Regions from separate parts of the Homo sapiens genome. Here region 1 is linked to region 2. The links are contacts of gene promoters, found by promoter capture Hi-C in human tissues and cell types (Jung and others, 2019). All regions are on one chromosome and are shown on one strand. The core of a region is centred on a gene start or on the middle of the fragment in contact, and the rest is flanking DNA. Distances in the headings are between cores, read along the strand shown. Region 1 overlaps MYOM1 (myomesin 1). Region 2 holds the start of SMCHD1 (structural maintenance of chromosomes flexible hinge domain containing 1).

Evidence for each region. Contacts are between HindIII fragments. The study calls those that stand out against the background at their distance.
Region 1: a fragment that was not itself captured here is called in contact with the fragment with the promoter of SMCHD1 in region 2 in 1 of the 25 tissues and cell types used here (lymphoblastoid cells).

What each region holds. Positions count from the first base shown.
Region 1 is chr18:3,173,983-3,179,112 of GRCh38, reverse strand. MYOM1 (myomesin 1) reads left to right here. Exons shown (of 38, transcript NM_003803.4): 6 at 2,979-3,071; 7 at 4,905-4,993; 8 at 5,113-5,130. Among named protein-coding and RNA genes, the nearest start is that of MYOM1, 43 kb to the left of the region's middle. RefSeq lists enhancers at 784-1,173, 1,194-1,313. The HindIII fragment of the contact is 4,313 bases long and covers 141-4,453 here.
Region 2 is chr18:2,653,287-2,658,574 of GRCh38, reverse strand. SMCHD1 (structural maintenance of chromosomes flexible hinge domain containing 1) reads right to left here and starts at 2,849. Exons shown (of 48, transcript NM_015295.3): 1 at 2,314-2,849. The coding sequence starts at 2,499. It also overlaps the pseudogene CBX3P2. RefSeq lists silencers at 2,147-2,326, 2,557-3,006 and an enhancer at 4,041-4,670. The HindIII fragment of the contact is 8,444 bases long and covers 1-4,719 here.

The DNA of each region.
Region 1 (5,130 bases), core at 1,048-3,547, 520 kb before region 2:
AGGATTGCTTGAGCCCAGGAGTTTAAGACCAGCATAGGCAACATAGCAAGAGCCTGTCTCTACAAAAAATAGAAAAAATTAGCTGAGTGTGGTGGTGCACACTTGTAGTCCCAGCTACTTGGTAGTCTGAGGTGGGAAGATTGCTCGAGCCTGGGAGGTGGAGGTTGCAGGGAGCTATAATCACACCATTGCACTCCAGCATGGGAGACAGAGCGAGACACTGTCTCAAAAAAAAAAAGTAAATGTGGATCAGACACAATCCCAACCTCAAAGGTTTGGCAACATAATAGAAGAGACACATATCCAACCATAATTTTGATAAATGTTATATTTAGTAACTTGAAGCAAGGAACCCTGATGCAGAGAGGCAGGAACGATTCATACTGTGTCATATTTTAGGGAAGAGTTTATTGAAGAAGTTGCATTTGATCTGAATCTTGAAGGATGAGTTCGGGTTCTGTTATATGGAGGAGAGTGTTTGTTTGTTTTAAGTGTAGAAAATGAATAACGTGCTTTAGGGACGGAGGGGTGTATGTGTATGTGAGAGAGAGAGCTGGGGAAAGGAAGGAGCTGACTGAAGCCAGTATTCTTCCTTCCTCTCCCTTTCCATCATGTTCCCTACTCCCAAACCTCCTTATGATCGTGTCCACAAGTCTGAAGAAATGAAATGCAGACAGAACAATTGGAAAATGGAAGCATCATGTGGGTCAGCAGCCAGGCTGCCGGTTCAAATCCCTCCTCTGCTGTTCCTGGCTGTGTGACTGGGCAAGTTCCTGAAACCCCCATGCCTTGGTTTCTTCATCTGGAAAATGAGGTTAAAAACAGCACTATCTCATACGGTGGTTGTGAGAACTGAACTTACCAATGTATGCATAAAGCGCTTAGAGCATTGCCTGGCTCATAGTCAATTCTCTGTGTCAGCTATGTTAATCAGGGTTATTGACGTCATCTGTGCGTGCGAAGTGGGCTGTCTGAAAGGGAAACAAGTGAAACCCAGTTCCTCTTTTGGGCAGAAAATGGTTTAAGTAGAAAAGCCTGGTCCAGCACCATAGCCACTGGCTACTGAGAACATGAGGAAGTGGTGAAGAATCCAGGCGCCACGTACAGACCCAGAAGACAGGGTCCCAGGGAGAGGCCCGCCTGCGTAGTCCACTCTCCGAGGGCTGTGAGGCTTAACCAGATATGGAACAGTCAGAAAAAGGGAGGCTTTCAGCTCTTACTTGTCAGAAGTTTCCTTTCATGATTTATATTATAAATTCTTCCAAGGCAAGAGCCATGTTTGTTTATGACATTGAATAAAACACTTAAATATAATGATCGTTCAATACAATGATATTGCAGGCCGAGCATAGTGGCTCACACCTGTAATCCCAGCACTTTGGGAGGTCAAGGCAGGTGGATGACCTGAGGTCAGGGGTTCGAGATCAGCCTGACCAACATGGTGAAACCCCATCTGTACTAAAAATACAAAAAACTAGCCAGGCGTAGTGGCCGGTGCCTGTAATCCCAGCTACTGGGGAGGCTGAGGCAGGAGAATCACTTGAACCCGGGAGGTGGAGTTTGCAGTGAGCCAAGATGATGCCATTGCACTCCAGCCTGGGCAACAAGAGTGAAACTCTGTCTCAAATAATAATAATAATAATAATAATAATAATAATAATAATAATGATATTGCTTCTAACAACATGCAAGAATGTTAGCAGGAAGAATGTTTTGCTCTCATCCTACACAGATAGCCAGCAATAAAACCCCCAACAGAAAGCCTTCCTCTCTGTTACATCAATAGTGGTCAACTTTTTAAAAAGCTTATTTATGTATTTATTTGTTTTATTTATTTTTAAAAAGCTTATTTGTTTGTTTGTTTTATTTATTTTAAGACACGGTCTCACTCTGTTGCCCAGGCTGGAGTGCAGTGGTGCGATCATAGCTCACTGCAGCCTCAGCCTCTCAGGCTCAAGCTATTCTCCCACTGCAGCCTCCAAAGTAGTTGGGACTACAGGTTTACACTCAGCTAATTTTTTGTAGTTTTTGTAGATTCAGGGTCTTGCTTATTGCCCAGGCTGGTCACAAACTCCTGGCCTCAAGTGATTCTTCCACTTCAGCCTCCCAAAGTGCTGGGATTACAGGAATTACATGCATAAGCCACCATGCCTGGCCTAAAACCTTTTAAATTATAATATAACATGCACACAAAAAGTGTGCATATTATATACTGCAAATTTTTTTTTTTCGAGATGGAGTCTCACTCCGTCGCCCAGGCTGGAGTGCAGTGGCACAATCTCAGCTCACTGCAACCTCCGCCTCCTGGGTTCAAACAATTCTTGTGCCTGAGCCTCCTGAGTAGCTGGGATTACAGGTGTGTGCTACCATGCCTGGCTAATTTTTAGTATTACTAGTAGAGATGGTATTTCACCACGTTGGCCAGGCTGGTCTCAAACTCCTGACCTCAAGTGATTTGCCCGCCTCGGCTTCCCAAAGACTGCACACTTTTACAAATGAATTGCTTTAGTGAATTTTTGTAGATTGCACACACCCATGTAACTGACACCCAAATCAATAAACATTATTGACACCCAAGAAGCCTCCTTCTTGCGTCCCAACACACTACTGATTTCTAGTAGCATTAATTAGTTTTTTGTTTTTGTATTCTATATAAAAGCAATCATTCTGCTGTGCACTGTTTTGTAACTGGCTTTTTTCGGTAACTATGTTACATGATATTCAGCCATATTGCTGTGAATCGTCAACATTTTTCATGTAAGTTTATAGAGGAGGGGAAAGCACTTCATCAAGAAGTGTGATGTATTGCTGGTGCACTTCACGTAAGCCAATATGATTTACATTTATTTAATCGATGCTGCTGCTACCCTCAGTGCCCTGTTTACAGATGTTCCTGCAAGAACAAGAATTGTGTGTGTGTTTAATCATGAAGTTGTTTACACTTCAACTTACTTCATTTTGTTTCCATTCTGTTATAGGTATAAAAACCAGGTGCCAATAAATGTCCATGCAAACCCTGGAAAGTATATTATTGAGAGTCGATATGGGATGCACACTCTGGAGATTAATGGGTAAGAGAACATTAGTGTCCATGTGTTGCTCACCATTGCTCAGGGAGGCTTCTCACCCCTGCAGTTAACAGCCACTCTCCCCACTTCATCCCAATGCTGTGTGATCACACTGAGGGACATTCGTATACGGTGCTTCTCTGGGTGCACACCTGAAAGTGATATGTATGACTGATCCTTACCATACCCACACTACCTCCCAAAGTGATTTTATATTTGGATTCGGTCAAAGATGATGAGAAAAAAACCAATTTGCATGTTTTTATTTATCTTTTTATATACTTGGGAATTTTTCTTAGATGTAAGTAAGAAAAATATGTTGCATAAAGAGGCATTTATATTCAGTAATCATTTCAGAGTCCCAAATCAATATCATCATCACAGTCTCTTGTTTTTAATAACTAAAGGCCATGGAGATCCGGGTAGGTGGCATTGAATGTGGGCTAAACTTGGAGATAATGTTCTTTCCTTCAGCTTGCCAGGAACCATGGGAAAGTATGCACTCTGTCAATCTGTGTATGTGAAGCAGGCTAGACATTGAGATGTTTGAGCTTAAAGTAAAATCCAAAGCAAAATTTGAAAACGAAACCTACATCAAAATTCCTAAGTTCCCAAATGTTTATTTTGCCTCCCAAGATGATTTTGAAATTCAAACCTAATTAGGTCAATGAAAAGCTAAACAAGTTCCCAGAATTTTCAGTTTAGATAAAACCATGATGTGCCTAAGTGTCAAGGTGAAATTTATACCATTCATTCTCAGGAGACTTATAGCCTTCTCCTCAGATCAGAGGAGTTGGCCAAATGATGCTAGGACCCTGTGCCATTTGCCAGGCACTGACCCTGACCCAAAGTCAGGTCAGTTCTGCCAGTGGGTGGTTCTGCTAAAGCAACAGTGAGCTATGTGGTTACTTTCAAAATTAAGTAGTTATGAGAAGGGCAACTGTGTTTGCCTTGCTGGGGTTCTATTGATGTCTGTAAAATTTCAGCAAGAAAAAAAATTTACACAAATGAAACTAAACCCCGAGAAACAATGAAGAACACGAGAAACTGGTAATGATAAGACATAAAACAACCTGCTTTGAAACCTTAGCCTCTTCATCTCTCCATGAAACCATTCTCTCCCTAATGGTCCATTTTTATAAGAATTCCAGTTTCTGTATTATAACTTAGAAGAACATCCAAATGGCGCTTCTTGTGTGCTGTGAGCTGAAATTCCAAGTATGGCCTGAACCTTAGTGGAAATGAAGTGTAAATAACTTAGATGAGCTTTGAAGCTAGAACACATAGACCAACGTGGCTCAGGGAGGTTGTGGGAATCTACACGGAGGGACTGCTTCTTTCTCTTCCCTATTTCCTGGTTGCCCCCAGACTGAAACCCACCACAAGGGCAGGACAGCAGGAAAGCCACGCCCTCCAGTGTGCCTCTGGGTAGTTACTTGCTACAAAGGTACACGCCTGCACATTTTCTCCTCCCAATGCAACTTTAGACAAGTAAGCGGATCACAATGCTGTTCACTCTATAATTTATGTGCCTAGCACTTGGTTGACTTTTTTTTTTGACATTTTAAATGAACCCAGGCTAGGGTCACAGTGAACTATAGGTGTTCTCTCCCCAGTCTATGCTGCTGGCATGAAACTGCAGTAGATCACTTGGACTAGGTAATATCCCACAGGTAGCTAGATCAGAGACAAATAGCTGTACCAGGAGAACCAAAGAGCCATGTGTTAGCCACTGATTTGCAGGGGGCTGTGATAGCAAAGAGTTCCTTGATAGAACAGCTAGTAATTACAAGGATTGTCACTACGATGGATATTCATTTCCGTCTGTTCTTTCAGATGTGATTTTGAAGATACAGCTCAGTACCGGGCCTCGGCGATGAATGTTAAAGGAGAGCTTTCGGCATATGCTTCAGTTGTGGTAAAAAGTAGGTTTGCTAGATTTGTTTTCTTCAAAGTGTGTGTGTGTTTTTAAAAATTTCTTCCCATGGTTTTAAAATAAATCGATCACAAAGCAGTTCACATGCGTTTCTGTTTTCTTCTCTAGGGTATAAGGGAGAGTTTG
Region 2 (5,288 bases), core at 1,600-4,099:
ACTAAATTTAAAACGTTTTCTAGCAGGATAAAGTGGGAGGAAGGAGGAACAGAATTAGTTAAAAGAAATATTTTCCTTGGTTTTCCAGTTGAAATATTGAAGGAAGGAATAAATACATCTGTTCCCTACAGCAAAGAATGCCATTTGAGTAGTATAACAGAATGAACAGAGGTTCTGGGTTTGAATACTAACTTGAGCTTTACTATCTGAGTAATGAGTCACCATTTCCACGACTGTGTTTATACTTCTGTAATAAAAGGCCAATAATACTTCCTCTATTTATCTAAGAGTTACTGAGACATCTCACGAGAGGGAAATAGTGCATTTCTAGAGGAAGGGTAAAGTAGCAAAACATTTTCAAAAAGCAATTTTAAAATACGAAACAAGAGCTTTAAAGATGTATCTCATCTTTGATCCAGTTCTAAGATTTCAAACTAAGCAAACAATAATAAAAGACATAAACGGCTATGTATTCAAAGATGTTTTTCCACTGGGTGCAGTGGCTCACGCCAGTAATCCCAGCACTTTGGGAGGCGGGTGGATCTCTTGAGCCCAGGAGCTCGAGACTAGCCTGGGCAACACAGCCAAACCCCCGTATGTACGAAAAATACGAAAAAAAAAAAACATAGCTGGGCATGGTGGCGCTCACCTGTAGTCCTGGCTACTTGGGAGGCTGAGGTGGGAGGATCACCTGAGCCCGGGAATATTTGGGCCTGGGAAAATGTTTATTACAGCATTACTTAAAATCAAAAAAATTAAAAGTAATGTAAATGTCAACAGAAAGGAGAGATTCGGTTATGTAAATAGTGGTAGCAAATGGACCATTTCAAATTTTGATTTGAAGACCTACGTTTAAAGAAACTTCTGACACTATTAAGTGAAAAAATTAATAGAATATAAAACACATATTTTAGTAATTTAAAAAATGGAGTGGGAAGGAGGAGGAAGGCTGAAAAGACATAACCTCAGGTGCTAAGAGTAGTCATATAGTAGTTTTACAGCGAGTAAAAGATTTACTTGTTTCCCCCCTCTGGTTCCATATTTTCTTTAATGTACTGATATTTTTACTATAAACACAATAAACGTAAAAAGTTTCCCTTTTGTAGAATGGTTCTGAATAGAAAGCATTCAACAAAAAAGATGAGCATTCATTCACTTTTCAAACACAACGGGAATCTACTACGTTCAGGCACAGAATTAACTTGAGGGGATAGGTTTTTGTCTTCATTCATTTATCCATTCTAATCTGGGCATTTACAATGTCGCAGGCACAGTTCTAGACGCTGGGACTACAGCTGTGAACAAAAGAAAGTCCTTACTTCTCCAATCGTTTTCATTCTACGGATCACGATTTCAATTATTTCAGCAACCATACAGTTATATGGTCTAGAACATTTCTAAACCTATCAGCCTCACGACAAAACACGGCTTCAAAGTTCTTTTTTTCCCTTGGACGCTAAGTGTTCTTAACAGCTTAAAAAGGGACCTCATATGGTTAATTCAGAGCATGACAATATTCCTTCTTCAAAGCTCAGGCAATGCCACCACCTCATATCTATAAAGTACATCACAGTTTAAAGCGGATTTCCCTCCACGTTCATTTTCAAAGCGAACCAATACACGGGGTAGGTACGTTTTCTGGTGCTCCACAGCCACCCATACCAACCTTTGACTTGGTTTGGAAATTCCCAAGGGTTAGGGCTCAGACAGGCAGAAGGCCAGCTCTACCTGCAGAGCTGACCTGGACAAGTGTCTCCGTGCGGAAGGATCCCCCCCGCCGCCCCGCCCCAGAAGGACCTGCAACCTCGACAGGGCAACCCGGGGACACCCCGCATCATCTAATGAACTTGGGGGAGATGACTCCGGGCATTTCACAACTTCCCACCGTCGCAACACTCACAACAGAGCCCCTGGGCGTTAACTCCCTTCTCTCGTTTTAAAAAAGTTACAAAGTAAAAACAGACACCACCAACGGCTTTCCCTAGACTGCAGGGCCGCAACCGGGCTAAGCTCGCCCAGGGCCAACAAACGCTGAGCTCTCCACCCGGGCCGGCAAGGCCTCCCGTAAAAGGAGCGGAGGCAGAGGGAGGGCCACGGGGGAGCCGGCCCTGCACTTCGAGGCCCGGGCCAGGGCCCGCCCGAGGCGTCCGGCCACCAGGTCACGGACATGGCGGGCACACGGGAGAGGGAAGCCAAGGCCGCAGGACCGGGACCGGGTGACAGGTTTATTGCCCTCAGTGAGCAAGTTGAGTTTCTCATCACCCTCCCGCCCCCAAGTCTACACGCGCATCCCTTCCTCGCCCCTTCGCGTACCTGACACACACACGCGCGAAATCCCGCGTAGTCCGAGCGCTCCCCGACCTGCAGAGGCCGGTCCCCGAGCTCGGACTCCTTTTCGCGCCGATCAAACAAGTACACCGTCCTGTGGCCGACGCCTCCGCCATCCTCCTCAGTCCCCACAGAGGCCCCACCAGGCCCGCCGCCGTCCGCCGCTGCCATATTGGGGAAAAGGAGAAAAGACAGCGACGCCTGCCGCCGCCGGGCTCAGGGCTGAGGTGCGCGCTCCGCGCGGCGCCTTCAGCTCCAGCTCCCGGGGCGGCTCGAGGCCTCGGCCCGGCGCGCTGCAGCTCCTCGTCAGCGGCGGCGGCCGAGCAGCGGCAGGCGCGAGGATCACCCGGGAACCGATTCAAACGCGCTCCTGCCCGTGCACCACGTCACTTCCGCGGCCCGCCACTCCTGAGGAGAAGGGGACGCGCGGCGCGCTCCTCACCGGGCCCGGGCCCAGCGCCTATCGCCGCCCACGCGAGCCTCACGGTGCGACCCGCGACCAGCGCCGCCGCCGGGACTGTGGCGCAGGAGGAAGAGCGGTGGCGGGTGGCGGGCGGCGGGCGACAGCGAGGGGCGGGGCGAATCCAGCAGGCCGCGCGGGCAGGGGCGGGGCTTCGCCGCGCGCGCGCCCGGGGCCCGCCCCCTCGGCCCTCGCGAAGTTGGAAGGAGGCTGAGTCTTTCGCGGCTGCCTGCGCCCTGCGGGTAGTCCTCAGAGGCCGAGGCGGGAGAGCAGGGCTCGGGGGCAGCGGGGGAATCTCCCGAAGAGCTGTGTTCTCTCTGTGGAAAGGGCCCCGCTGCCTTCCCGCCTCTCCAGGATCCCGACTGAGCTTGTAGGTGCCGCGCCGGCTGACTGAGCCCTCTCTGGCTGGGTCGCGTGGACGCGGCGGCGGGAAGCTTCAGGCCGGCGGTACTCGCCGGGCGCAGAGTCCACCAAAGCGAGCACGTGGGTCCCTCTGCCGAGAAAATAGGCGCTACGAGAGCCGGCGCCCCTTTTTCCTCCTCATTTCTTAGTAGTACTGGGTGGGCTCCAGCGTGGGCCCCCGAGGCAAAGCGGGTCCGTGAGAACGTCAGAAGGGCGCTCTGTGACGTCACAGCGTCCCCGCCCCCCGCACCCTCTGGGGGCCCTGGAGCGCCGACGGCATTCGGGGTACGGGGGTGACTCCAGCGCCCTAGTTTTAACGCTGCCTGCGCTTCGCGGTCTCCCACGTGCGTGTAAATTCTGAAAGAACCCACGCCACAGTTACTAGGGTTAAATTAGATGTTCGCAAAATTCTTAAGGCCTAATACGTTTTCAATCAAAGCCTTTAATCGTCGTTACCGGGCAGCGTTTCATTAACTATCCTCATCGTGGGCAGGTAGTGCCCTAACTCAACAAATAAAATGCCATTGTTAGAGGACTAGGTTTACTCTCCAGTTCTTAGAAATCGTGAATACTGTATACTTGAGAGTGGTATGTAAATTCAGAAACCCAAAGGTAGCAGATAGAGGGGTTTTTCAAATCTCAGAATATAAGCCTGGATAATAGTGCGTTTTCTGTTTTACTAGGTTTGCTAAAACCTTATATGGACAGACTTACAAAGTTAGTGTTATGTTAGAAACCTAGATTTGCTTGTGGATGTCAAGACGTTTCAAGATCGTGGGGAATGTGTGTATAAATTGACTACACATATACTAGAGGTAGACACCAACTAGAACGAAATTGTGAAGGCGTGTTTGGGGAACATACATTGTTTGGCTGGAAGTGAGGAGAACTGAGCGGTAGATGGTGGAAGATAAAATTGGAAAGACATAAACTGTGGCCAAATGCCGTTCATGTTCCTTAAGGTGGAGGTGGAGGAAAAGAAAACAAAAAAGTAACCCCCGATTCTAATGGAATTTCTTTGAAGTCTGATGTTTTATTTACCTTTCAAATTCATGCGAATGTCTCATTCTATTCCTTTATATAGTGGTATTTGAGTTAAATGACTCAAAGAAAAACACAAATTGTTTTTCTAATTCTTAGTTAATGGGTAAGATGAATTGCCTCTCTACTTCAGCAAATTGAGATTAGAGCTGGAGATTCGTCATCAGGGCAATTTCTCATTTCTTTGTAATACCAGATTATACAAGCACACCTCTTTCATGTCTTTAGAAGAGATTTCAGGATCATCTCTAAGAGATTTTTTTTTTAATGGTGCCAGAGAAGTGTACTGCAGTATTATGGGCAGCTCTTGATGGGAACATTGATGTCTTACCTTGTTGAGAGATCGAGTCTGAATCAGTTTCTTAATGGCAGTATGGCATCACTTTTGTTCTCAGAATATCAAACAATTTTTTCATCAAAGAAAGATGACGAGTTTGTTCTTTATTTAATTGTCATCACAAGTAAATAAAAGCGTTTGAAATGACCCACTTCCTTAATGAGTTCTCTTCAATTGACTCTTAGTTTTTGTTAATTAGCTATCTTACTACAGAGTAAAATATTTAAGTGGCCTTGTATCAGTTATTTATTGCTACATAACGAACTTCCCCAAAACTTAGTGGCCCCTGAAGAAGTTCCCCATTCCCTTCTTCCTTGCATGTAGCTCAAGTTTGAGTCAGGCAGGATTTGAGATGCCACAGACCCAGACCAGGTGCAGCTCAGAGATGGTGAACGAGATGGTGAACAATAGCTCTTCATGTCTGCAATTAAAAATGGCCTCCAGTAAAACTACAGTCGTCCTTTGGTATCCTTGGGAAATTGGTTTCTGGACCGGGACCCCCATGGATAGGAAAATCCAAGGCTGCTCAAGTCCCTCATATAAAAGAGCGAAGTATTTGCATATAACCTACATACATCCTAGATTACTTATAATACCTAATGCAATATAAATGCTATGTAAATGGTTGTTATACTGTATTGTTTTTCATTTGTATTTTTTTGTTTTATTGTGATTTTAAAATATGTTCTATCCTCGGTTGATAGAATCCAGGAATGCGGA